2 separate regions of the Homo sapiens genome follow, and region 2 is linked to region 1. Evidence: promoter capture Hi-C in human tissues and cell types (Jung and others, 2019). All regions are on one chromosome and are shown on one strand. Each heading gives the region's core, a stretch centred on a gene start or on the middle of the fragment in contact. The rest is flanking DNA. Distances are from core to core; before and after follow the strand shown. Region 1 holds the start of SOCS1 (suppressor of cytokine signaling 1). Region 2 overlaps ZC3H7A (zinc finger CCCH-type containing 7A).

Region 1 (5,648 bases), core at 1,317-3,816:
ATCCACCTCCTCTATGATGCGCAGAAAGTTGCCCTTAGAAAGGTGGAGGCCCAGGGAGGCAAGGGGAATTGCCCTAGCCGCCAGCAGCACCCTCCCGCCACCACAGACCACACAGTCTCCTTCTGGCTCCAAGTTGTGTGTTCACCAAAAAGTACACAAGACAGAGCAGGGTGAGAAGAAGGAAGCTAGACCCAGCCCTGTATCCCCCATCTCATCTCAACTGAGTATCCCTTGATGCTGGTTCAGAATGTGCCACTCCTCTGTCCAAAAACTCACTAAGCCCCCACCCCCACCCCTTCCTGGAAGCTGTTGTGGTCATAGAACCAAAGAAGTTTCCTCTCTGTTATCCATTTCAAGCAGATGTTTAGTGGACAGCCAAAAAAAGGCCCAAGTGTTGTCTTTGACAGGAATGGCCACAGGCAGATTTACTCAGTTTTCCCTTCTGTAGAATGGAAATAAGAGCCCGTGCCTCACAGGGTTGTGCCTCTCTTTATAGGATTAAGTAAATTTAAGTATGCAAAGCACAGAATTAGGGCTGGCACGCACAAAGTGCTCAAACGCGAGCTGCTGTCTTACCGGACACACGCCAAAACTAGACCAACCGTTTCTCTCCCTGGAGAGTTGTGGGTGGAACCGTGAGGGATGCCCAGCCACAGGGCAGGCCCCGTACACCACCTGCAGCCCAGCAGGTCAGCCTTAGGACCCTCTCCCCTGGACCTGTTCAGAACCAAGTTAAACTTTTGGCCAAAGCACACTCGCTAGAAAACTTATTTTTTTTTAAAAAAAAAACTTTCATAATAAAGTTTATTACCTAAACTGACTTTAAAAAATATAAAATAGGATTCTGCACAGCAGAAAAATAAAGCCAGAGACCCTCCCCCAACCCCTGGTTTGTGCAAAGATACTGGGTATATGTAAACATGAAGAGGTAGGAGGTGCGAGTTCAGGTCCTGGCTCCAGATACAGTTAAGCTGCTACAACAACCAGGGGGACCCAGAGGGAGCACCAGGAGGGGGAGGACCCCCTCAAGAGGTGAGAAGGGGTCTGCGGCCTCGTCTCCAGCCGAGGGCGGGAGGCGCCTCGCCCCTACACCCATCCGCTCCCTCCAACCCAGGCCGGGGAGGGTACCCACATGGTTCCAGGCAAGTAATAACAAAATAACACGGCATCCCAGTTAATGCTGCGTGCACGGCGGGCGCTGCCGGTCAAATCTGGAAGGGGAAGGAGCTCAGGTAGTCGCGGAGGACGGGGTTGAGGGGGATGCGAGCCAGGTTCTCGCGGCCCACGGTGGCCACGATGCGCTGGCGGCACAGCTCCTGCAGCGGCCGCACGCGGCGCTGGCGCAGCGGGGCCCCCAGCATGCGGCGCGGCGCCGCCACGTAGTGCTCCAGCAGCTCGAAGAGGCAGTCGAAGCTCTCGCGGCTGCCATCCAGGTGAAAGCGGCCGGCCTGAAAGTGCACGCGGATGCTCGTGGGTCCCGAGGCCATCTTCACGCTAAGGGCGAAAAAGCAGTTCCGCTGGCGGCTGTCGCGCACCAGGAAGGTGCCCACGGGCTCGGCGCGCAGCCGCTCGTGCGCCCCGTGCACGCTCAGGGGCCCCCAGTAGAATCCGCAGGCGTCCAGGAGCGCGCTGGCGCGCGTGATGCGCCGGTAATCGGCGTGCGAACGGAATGTGCGGAAGTGCGTGTCGCCGGGGGCCGGGGCCGGGACCGCGGGGCACGGCCGCGGGCGCGCGGGGGCCGCGGGCGAGGAGGAGGAAGAGGAGGAAGGTTCTGGCCGCCGTCGGGGCTCTGCTGCTGTGGAGACTGCATTGTCGGCTGCCACCTGGTTGTGTGCTACCATCCTACAGAAGGGGCCAGCCGGAGGGGTGGGCCATAGCGTCCGGGGGTGCGCTGCGGGAGAGACAAAGAGGTGAGCTGGGGCGCTGCGGGGCCGGGCAGGTGTGCGCCGGCCGGACAACTCCGGAGGGCGGCGCTCCCGGCGGACCCGGCCCTAGGGGGCGAGCACGGAGCACCAAGTCCGCGCGGATCCGTTCAGCCTCAGTGGACACAGCTAGAAAATGGGCTCTGTACTCCGCGGAGCTCTTCCCGGCGGGTGGGGGCTCGGTGGAGGCGGAGTCCGGCCTCCGGGCAGCACCGAGAGGGGGGCGTGGAGAGCAGCCGGTTCTGGCTCCAGCCGTCCGGCCCCGGCTCGCCGCCCCGCGCCCGCCGCCTGCTGGCCAGGCTGGGATCCGCGCCTGGTCTGGGCGATTTGGGCTAGGGCCGGAGAAAGGCTGTGCTGCGGGAGCCCCGCGCGCGGGGGGCGGCCTGGGTGGGGCCGGCGAGGGTCAGGGGCATCGCGGCCGCGACCCCATTCTGCAGCCCCCGAGGCTCGCCCGACTCCTGGCTGCCCTGGACTCCCCTCCCTCCTCCCTCCCGCCTCCTCGCCCAGGGCCCGGCTCACCTGGCGGCGGGGCGCGGGACGCCGCGGGCGGGACGGCGGGGGGCTCCGGGGCGCTCCGGGGCGGCTCTCGCGCATGCTCCGGGGCCAGGAGCCGTGCAGCTGCCACGGCCGCAGCTCGCTCTGTTCGGCGCCCGCCCCTGCGCCAGTCTTTTAAACCGGCTCGGAGGCGGGGCTGGCGACGGCGGGAGGCCCCGCCCCCTGCCGGCCCCGCCCCCAGCTCCACTTTTGGTTTCTCTTTCCGCGGTGGCGTCCGGCGAGGACCGCTTCGGCCCTGTTTCCCTCTCTTCTGGACCCTCCCGCGGGGCCCTCTGCCCGCCTGTTCGCACCTGCCCCAGCACCCGCCTCTCGAGGGGCTCTGGCCCCGACCCTGCGCCTTCCGGCCACTTCTCGGACCCCTCCTTCGGACTTGGCGACCCCGATTTTGCCCCGCTACCTCGGGTTCCACTTTCTGCCGCCAGGCCCTCTTGGGACGCGCCCTGACACACCCTCCTCCGCCCCAGCTGTCTCCACACCCGCCGGGGGCAGAGCCCTGTCCTCTCCTCCCCTGCAGCCAGATCCCCCTAGGAGGCCACAGAAGGTGTCCCCAACCCTGAGCCTGACCCCACCCGTAGACCCCCTCCTAGCCCCTGCTCCACCCGCCGTCGACGCCCTCAGTCGCCCGCCCTGCTGTCCCGAAGCCCCGGCCGGCCGCGGTCTCTGGTCTTGGCTCGGGCTTCCCGGGAAGCGGCGGCCTGACCACAGGCTTCAGAGGAACCCCTGGCGGCGCGGGCGCCTCCACCCCGGCCCAGTTCCTCGGAAACTGGGCGGGGCCGGGCAAGGTCCCTGGTGGCCTCGACTGCCCTCCCTGCGCTCCCACTACCCGGCTGCGGAAGAAACTGAGGCTGGGGAGGGGCTGGGATTTGCAATGGCTTGCAGATTGGGAGCTCTGGACCTGGATCTCGCCTTCCCCGTCTTCATTTTGGGGAGAGGTGCAGCTGGACGACATCAAATTGGAGCCCAGTGAAAAAATGGTGCATTCTCAGACGTGATGAATCCCCAAACCTGGTTTCCTAGCCCTCCTCTCCCCCGACCCCTTCCTCATAGATTTCCCCCTCCTACTGCTCCGTCAGGCATCTGCCCTTCAAAGACTGCCTTCCCACCACACACACGGCCGGGGCTTGGGATGGTGGGCGGTCGGTGGTCGGGGCTGTAATTTGCACACGTGTTTGTGATTTAGTGATTCCGATTGTCGTGCGAGGCCATGGAGTAGGTGCCTGGCTGCTCCGTGTATTTTTGAATGAAGGCATGTGAGGAGCCCCAGCATCACAAGGGGCCACATAAAAACCTGGCTAGGCTGGGCACTTGGTTACTGGCCTCACACTGGGACACACTGCCCTCTACAGACAGCTCTCAGACGGCTTCTCTCCTGGAAGCCCTGGTGCCCAGTCCCTTCCCGCCTCCCTGGCCCCACGATACCTCTTTCCCCAGGCAGAGCCTAGGTCCTTATTAACCTCCTGAACACAGGGAGTGGCCCAGAATCAGCCCAGCTTAGCACCCCATCAGTGCCCTGAATCTGCATGTGGCCAGGGCTGGTGGTGGTCATTGGTGTAGCCTCCTAGGTTGTGCGTGTGTGTGCGTGCGCGTGCGTGAGGGGGTGAGAGAAGATGCAGAACCTTGCCTGCACCAGAGGTCAGGTGTGTGATCATTCGAGAGATGTCCACTGAACATCTGCTGGAGGCCACACTCTGTGGAGGGTGATGGAATACAAGGAGACCCAGTTCCAAATCTGCACCTTTCTATTCTTGTGACCTTGAGCATGTAATTAACCTCTCTGCCATGGTTTCTTTATCTGTGAAATGGGGATAATAATAGTACCTCTAGCAGGGCGCAGTAGCTCATGCCTATAATCCCAGCACTTGGAAGGCCAAGACAGGAGGATTGCTTGAGCCCAGGAGTTTGAGAACAGCCTGGGCAACAAAGTGAGACCCCCTCTCTACAAAAAAAAAAAAAAAAAAAAAAAAATAGTACAAAAATCAGCCAGTCGTAGTGGATTGCACCTGCAGTCCCAGCTACTTGGGAGGCTGAAGCAGGAGGATTGCCTGAGCCCAGGAGGTCAAGGCTGCAGTGAGCCACGATTGTGTCACTGCACTCCAGCCGGGGCAACAGACTAAGACCCTGTCTCAAAAAAAAATAAATAAATAGTACCTCCATCCCGGGGTTGTATGGGAATTAAATGAGTGATTATGGGTCAGGTGCTTAAAACAGCCCGTAGTGTCTAATAAGCAGTCGGTAGATGTTTGTTGTTCATCTGAGGGTGCCTGTGGGTGTGGCAGTGTGTTGGAGCCCACAGACGCATGGCTTCAACCCCTGTGTCCATTTTTTTAAAGAGATGGAGTGTAGCTCTGTTGCTCAGGCTGGAGTGTAGTGATAGGATCGAGGAGGCACTATAGCCTCGACCTCCTGGGCTCAAGAGATTCTCCCATCTCAGCCTCCTGAGTAGCTGAGACTACAGGCACATGCCACCACACCCGGCTAATTTTTTAAATTTTTTGTAGGGATGGGGTCTCACTACGTTGCCCAGGCTGGTCTCGAACTCCTGTCCTTTAGTGACCCTCCTGCCCTGGCTTCCCAAAGCACTGCCTTATATCTATGTTTGAAGCCCTAGTCCAGGGACCACAGGCCAGGGAAGGCACAGCAAGGGAGCAGGAAAGCTTCTAAAGGTACACTCAGCACACGTGGGTTCTCCTCACTGCCACCAGTGACAGACAGCTTTGGTTTCATTTTCTGAAGTCCTGTGTTCAAAATGAAACCAAATCCAGATGCCGAAAGAGAAAAGGAAATCTGCTGGTTGACAAGCATCCACCTTGTGGGCTGTTCTGCTGGAGGGCTGGGCACCAGGCTCACAGGAAGCCAGGCAGTGCGAAACCCTGAGGGGCTCAGAGTGCTCGGTAGGATGGGACCAGGCTCTGACCCCAGACCTGCTGCATGACCTTGGGCAAGTGACCTGTCCTCTTGGGACCTGATTTGCCCCAACTGCAAAGTGATCTCTGGACATCTCGTACCTCACAGAGCAGCCAGACATGCAGAGCCAAGGGCAAAATGCCAGGCATGGAGTCGGTGCTTGGCACAATGACCTCTTGTCACAGGGCGGATGGACCAGCCCTATATCCACAGCTTACTAAACCACAGCCACAGCCAGATGTGTGGAAACATTCTCCTCCCTATCTT
Region 2 (5,648 bases), core at 1,365-3,864, 520 kb after region 1:
AGAGAACTGCTTGAACCCGGGAGGTGGAGGCTGCAGTGAGCTGAGATAGCGCCACTGCACTCCAGCCTAGGTGACAGAGCGAGACTCTGTCTTGGAAAAAAAAAAAAAAGAAAAAAAGAAAAAACTCACCCTAAGAGAACAATGCAGGTTTCCACAGAAATTCAACTCCCAATTAAGATCCAAGAAATGAATGGAACACGCAAACCTGTATACATGTGGTGTTAGGTGAGGTGCTGGTCTAGCAGTGCTGCCACTTATTTCTCGTGGACCAGCATTTCTCAAAGGCTATTCAGCAGAATAACAGGGATGAATTTGGCCACCAATCATTGCCCAACTCACAATAGCCATTAGCATCCTATTAGCCCCAAGAAAATTTTAATTTTAAAATTAAAAACAAAAACAAAAAAAAACCCTTTGTTAATTTTATCACAAATGACTCCCAAAACTAGTATTTGGCCCTGAACCACTCTTATTGCACTGAAACCTAACATCTATTAACATCCTATAAAATGCCCCACTGGAGCATTCAGGAAATGCTGGTTACAGCTAAAATATATTACTTGAGTTGTAGATGTTCTTTTGTAAAGTGACTAGAAGAGGCCAGAAGAGATGGCTCACGCCTGTGATCCCAGCATTTGGTGGGAGGCCAAGGCAGGAGGAACACTTGAGCTCAGGAGTTTGAGGCCAGCCTGGGCAACATGGTGAAACCCCATCGCTACAAAAAATACAAAAATTTAACAGGCCATGGTGGTGTGTGCCTGTGGTCCCAGCTACTCGGGAGGCTGAGGTGGGAGGATCACTTGAGCCCAGGAGGTGGAGGTTGCAGTGAGCCAAGATCAGGACACTGCACTCCAGCCTGGGCAACAGAACAAGACTCTGTCTCAAAAAAATAAATAAAGTGACAGGAGGGTATTGCCAATTACGTGTTTGAGGAATTAAAAAGGTTCCAAAAATAAACACACACCAAAAATACTAAAAGTAGAATTGCTCCCATCCTTCCCTTTAAAAAAAAATATAATTTTGACAGAAAAAATAACTTTACCTTGGTAGCCCCATCCCCAGGAACTGATTTTAATGAGAGCTGAAATAAAATAAAGACACTAATTTAAAAACAGAACTGACTCCAAGTTCTAAAACAAAATGAAAACACCTTATGCAGAGAACTCCAGCTTACCTCAGCTCTGACATACGCTTTTCTTATTTTAAATCCCAATTTCTGAGCTAGTTCTTGAGTTAGTTTTATTACATGCTCATCCTGAAAAAAATAAGTATGTATAATTAACAGGGTTATATTTACTAATGGTGAAGAAGAATAGACAAAACAGGGAAGTTTCCCATCAAGACACCTGCTTCATTAGCATTTATACCCAACTGAAGCAGGTTGATGGATGACTGGAAAATTTAACTCTTTAAATGCCATTTATTATGATGTAAATGGTTACGATGTAAACAAATAAACTATAAATTCCATACCTGAGGCACTGCTAAGGAGCACTTTGCTACAGCATCGTAAGCCTTTTTGTATCTTCCTAAATCACTTAAAGCCTTAGATTTCCGATACAGAGCTTTGCAGTTACTGGCATTTAAACTGAGGACTATATTGCAGTCCTCCAAAACTTTATCATGGAAACCCTGGTGTGTAAGACCAAAGAATAAAGTCAGCAATCAAACAATTCATTTCTTGCACTGAGGCCTTCCTGTAATAAAAACAAATTAATACCCCATCCTATTACCCTCCCTCTAAACTCCAAGTTAGCAGTATTACTTTTATTTTTTAAATTATTTTATGAAATTTCAAATACAAAAAAGTAGAAAGAATATCATGAATACCCATGTACACACCATCCAGGTCAGACAAATGCTAATATTTGGTCAGAAAGTCCCCAGATCTTCAAGAAATAAAGCTTTCCAGACCTAACTGATGTCCCCATGTGTCCCTCTCCTATTCGCTCCTCTGTAGTTACCCTTTGCTGGAGCACATTAAGATGTCAAACAGAAACGTAACTCCAAACAGCTAACTGATAAGGAATATATTACCCAAAACAAAATAAATAAACAATGAATGCTCTTTAACAAAGAGCTAGGTGACAACACGGATATTTTTCTTAAATTCATGGTTATATTTTACCGAGTATCCACAGTGAAAATTAAAAGCACTTCAGGTTGGGCACAGTGCCTCACAGCTGTAGTCCCAGCACTTTGGGAGGCCGAGGTGGGTGGATCACCTGAGGTCAGGAGTTCGAGACCAGCCTGGCCAACATGGTAAAAACCCCATCTCTACTAAAAATACAAAAATTAGCCAGGCGTGGTGGCGGGTGCCTATAATCCCAGCACTCGGGAGGCTGAAGCAGGAAAATCACTTGAACCCAGGAGACAGAGGATACAGTAAGCCGAGATTGTGCCACTGCATTACAGCCTGGGCAACAGAGTGACACTCCATCTCAAAAATTTAAAAAAGGTGGCCAGGCGTGGTGGCTCATGCCTGTAATCCCAGCACTTTGGGAGGCTGAGGCGGGCAGATCACCTGAGGTCAGGAGTTCGAGACCAGCCTGACCGACATGGAGACACCCCGTCTCTACTAAAAATACAAAATTAGCCAGGTGTGGTGGTACATGCCTGTAATCTCAGCTACTCGGGAAGCTGAGGCAGGAGAATCTCTTGAACCCGGGAGACGGAGGTTACGGTGAGCCAAGATTGTGCCATTGCACTCCAGCCTGGGCAACAAGAGTGAAACTCTTGTCTCAAAAAAAAAAAAAAAAGTTTTAAAAGGAAAAAAAGAAAAAAAAGCACTTCAAAAGCTTTTAAGCTTAAAAATGTGAAAATCTAGTGTGAATTCCTTTGAAGACTAATTACTATTTCTTGATTTAAAAAAACACTCGCCAGGCACGGTGGCTCACGCCTGTAATCCTAGCACTTTGGGAGGCTGAGGCGGGCAGATTGCCTGAATTCAGGAGATCGAGAACAGCCTGGGCAACACAGTGAAACCCCATCTCTAACAAAATACAAAAAATTTGCTGGGCACGGCGGCATGCGCCTGTAGTCCCAGCTACTCGGGAGGCCGAGGCAGGAAAATTGCTTGAACCCAGGAGGCGGAGGTTGCAGTGAGCCGAGATCGTGCCACTGCACTCCAGCCTGGGTGACAGAGCGAGACACTGTCTCAAAAAAAAAAAAAAAAAAAAAAACACTCGTAAGAGTGTTTTTTACCAAGAGTGTTTTACAAGATCAACTGGATCTTGACTAAGATGTTAACTGTGAACAGGGATACCTGAAAGACACACTGACCTGTGAAGACCTGTATCTTCCCTGGATGACTTTTTTATAAGCAGACACACCTTCAAAAGCCATACTCAAATGGGAATCATCAAGGACCAATAACTAAGAAACAAATTATTTCTTAAATCCCTAACCTTCTGTCCAAAGCTAATTTTTATTTTTTTATTTTATTTTATTTTTTGAGACGGAGTCTTGCTCTGTCGCCCAGGCTGGAGTGCAGTGGCACAATCTCGGCTCACTGCAAGCTTCGCCTCCTGGGTTCAAGCGATTCTCCTGCCTCAGCCTCCCGGGCAGCTGGGACTACATGCACACGCCACCATGCCCAGTTAATTTTTTTATTTTTAGTAGAGACGGGGTTTCACCATATTGGCCAGGCTGGTCTCAAACTCCTAACCTCATGATCCACCCACCTTGGCCTCCCAAAGTGCTGGGATTACAGGCGTGAGCCACCGTGCCCGGCCAATCCAAAGCTAATTTTTAAAAGCCTCAAGCCACTCCAAAAGCAGGTAATATGACTTTCTTAAAAACTTAAGAAATTGACTTTTTATTAATGTACTAAGTCATTGAAAAAATTCTTTTCACTCTAGAAACATCATTTTAAAAATTACAACTCACCATATTAGAATAGCAGGCAATACGATTTATATATAGTTTTTCAATTATTTCTTTGGGGATTAAAATTTCTTCAGATTTTGCATAATCAGCTATATTCAAGGCTTCCGTGTACTGGCTTATCGAGTTGTTCCAATCATGTTCCCGATAAACGTCATTTCCTTCATTAAAAAGATTTCTCACGAGAGCACGCAAATATACCTAAAAAAAAGAAAGTTACCACTTGAAGCCTTTTATCAAACAAGATATGGTATAAGTAAATTTTAATTTTTATACCTAAAACTTCACAGGAAACAATGTGACAGAACAGCAGCATTGCTCTAAGAAATTGTGAGATGCAGCCCAAGTCACTGCTATCTCAGCTAGGGATTGAATCTTGCTTGCTTTTTCAAGGGGAAATTCAATTTCTCACTATTAAGAAAAATGCAGCAAAGTACCTTATAAATATTTGTTCACATCTCCAATTCTGTGCCCGCTAGAGAAACCAAGTGGAAGCCCCAAGTCAAAGAGAATGAATAGTTTAAGGCTTTTGAGCAGTATTTCCAAATTGCCTTCCAAAAAGGCCATGATGAAAAATGTTTCTAGTGGTTTACTTTATAGCACCCATACACACTAGGTAGTGTGTGTGTGTGTACACGTGTGTGGGTACCCGTGCACATATATGTAAAATCTACCAATTTCTAGGTGGAAAATGGTATCGTTTTGTGTTTATTTATTTTTTTTAATGGTATCCTCTTTGTATGTGCATGTCTTTACCAGTGAAGTTGAACTATTCCACATTTTTACGGACCCCTTGTATTTCTTTTTCTGTAAATTGCTCAGGTCATTTACTGATTTGGGGGGAGGGGGATGTTAAACTTTTTTCTTATCAAGTAAGTATACACATTCTTTTAGCATGTATAAAAGTTTGTCATTTTCCTTCATTATTTCTATCACGCTTTAGTTTAGTTCTTTTTTTTCTTTTCTTTTTTTTTTTTGAGACAGAGTCTTACTCTGGCACCCAGGCTGGAGTGCAGTGGCACGATCTCGGCTCTCTGCGACTTCACCTCCTGAGTTCAAGTGATTCTCGTGTCTTAGCCTCCCGAGTAGCTGGGATTACAGGCACCTGCCACCACACTCGGCTAATTTTTGTATTTTTAGTAGAGACAGGGTTTCGCCATGTTGCCCAGGCTGGTCTCAAACTCCTGGTCTCAAGTGATCCGCCTGCTTCAGCCTCCGAAAATGCTGGGATTACAGGTGTGAGCCACCACGCCTGGCCATAATTTAGTATTTTAAAAGCTCTTTTTCATCACAAGATCAGAAAAATATTCAACTTGTTTTGTCTCATTTTATGAATTCCTGTCTAAGCTGATTAAATTATTTTAGCTGATTAAATTATTTTAGAAGACTGGACGGATCAACTATTAACAAAACTCGTGACATGCCACTTAACATCTTTAGACCCCAGGTCCACGTGCAAAATGAAACAACTGTTACAGTTTATTTCTGGCTCTAATACTTTTTTATTCCAAATCTGTTTGTAGAGAGCTAAGGAACAAGAGAGAAGAAAAGGGGAGGAGGGAGAGAGGCAGCAAGAAAGTGACATTTAGAAGCCTCAAAACCCTCAGAGGAAAAAAAACACAGGTGAACCAATAGTTAGTAGAGACAAGAGTCTGCAGTCAAAGTCCCAATAAACTGGGCTTTCTCCCTGTTCCTAAACAGCAGATCACTAGTTCTTCCCTCTTGGTATCCAGTCCCCCTTAGCTGCTGTCAGAACATCTCCT

Evidence for each region. The method cuts DNA at HindIII sites, captures the fragments that hold promoters and counts their contacts. A contact is called where the count stands out against the background at its distance.
Region 2: a contact is called between a fragment that was not itself captured here and the fragment with the promoter of SOCS1 in region 1, in 1 of the 25 tissues and cell types used here (aorta).

What each region holds. Positions count from the first base shown.
Region 1 is chr16:11,253,638-11,259,285 of GRCh38, forward strand. It overlaps SOCS1 (suppressor of cytokine signaling 1), which reads right to left and starts at 2,567. Exons shown (of 2, transcript NM_003745.2): 1 at 2,442-2,567; 2 at 780-1,891. The coding sequence starts at 1,841. The coding sequence ends at 1,206. All of the region lies in intron 1 of LOC105371082 (a long non-coding RNA gene), which reads left to right. RefSeq lists enhancers at 433-602, 5,114-5,343 and silencers at 1,213-1,302, 1,713-1,862, 1,873-1,922, 2,023-2,762, 3,013-3,212. The HindIII fragment of the contact is 22,451 bases long and covers 1-5,648 here.
Region 2 is chr16:11,775,278-11,780,925 of GRCh38, forward strand. It overlaps ZC3H7A (zinc finger CCCH-type containing 7A), which reads right to left. Exons shown (of 23, transcript NM_014153.4): 4 at 3,889-4,086; 5 at 1,474-1,632; 6 at 1,175-1,255; 7 at 1,043-1,081. Among named protein-coding and RNA genes, the nearest start is that of ZC3H7A, 19 kb to the right of the region's middle. The HindIII fragment of the contact is 4,281 bases long and covers 475-4,755 here.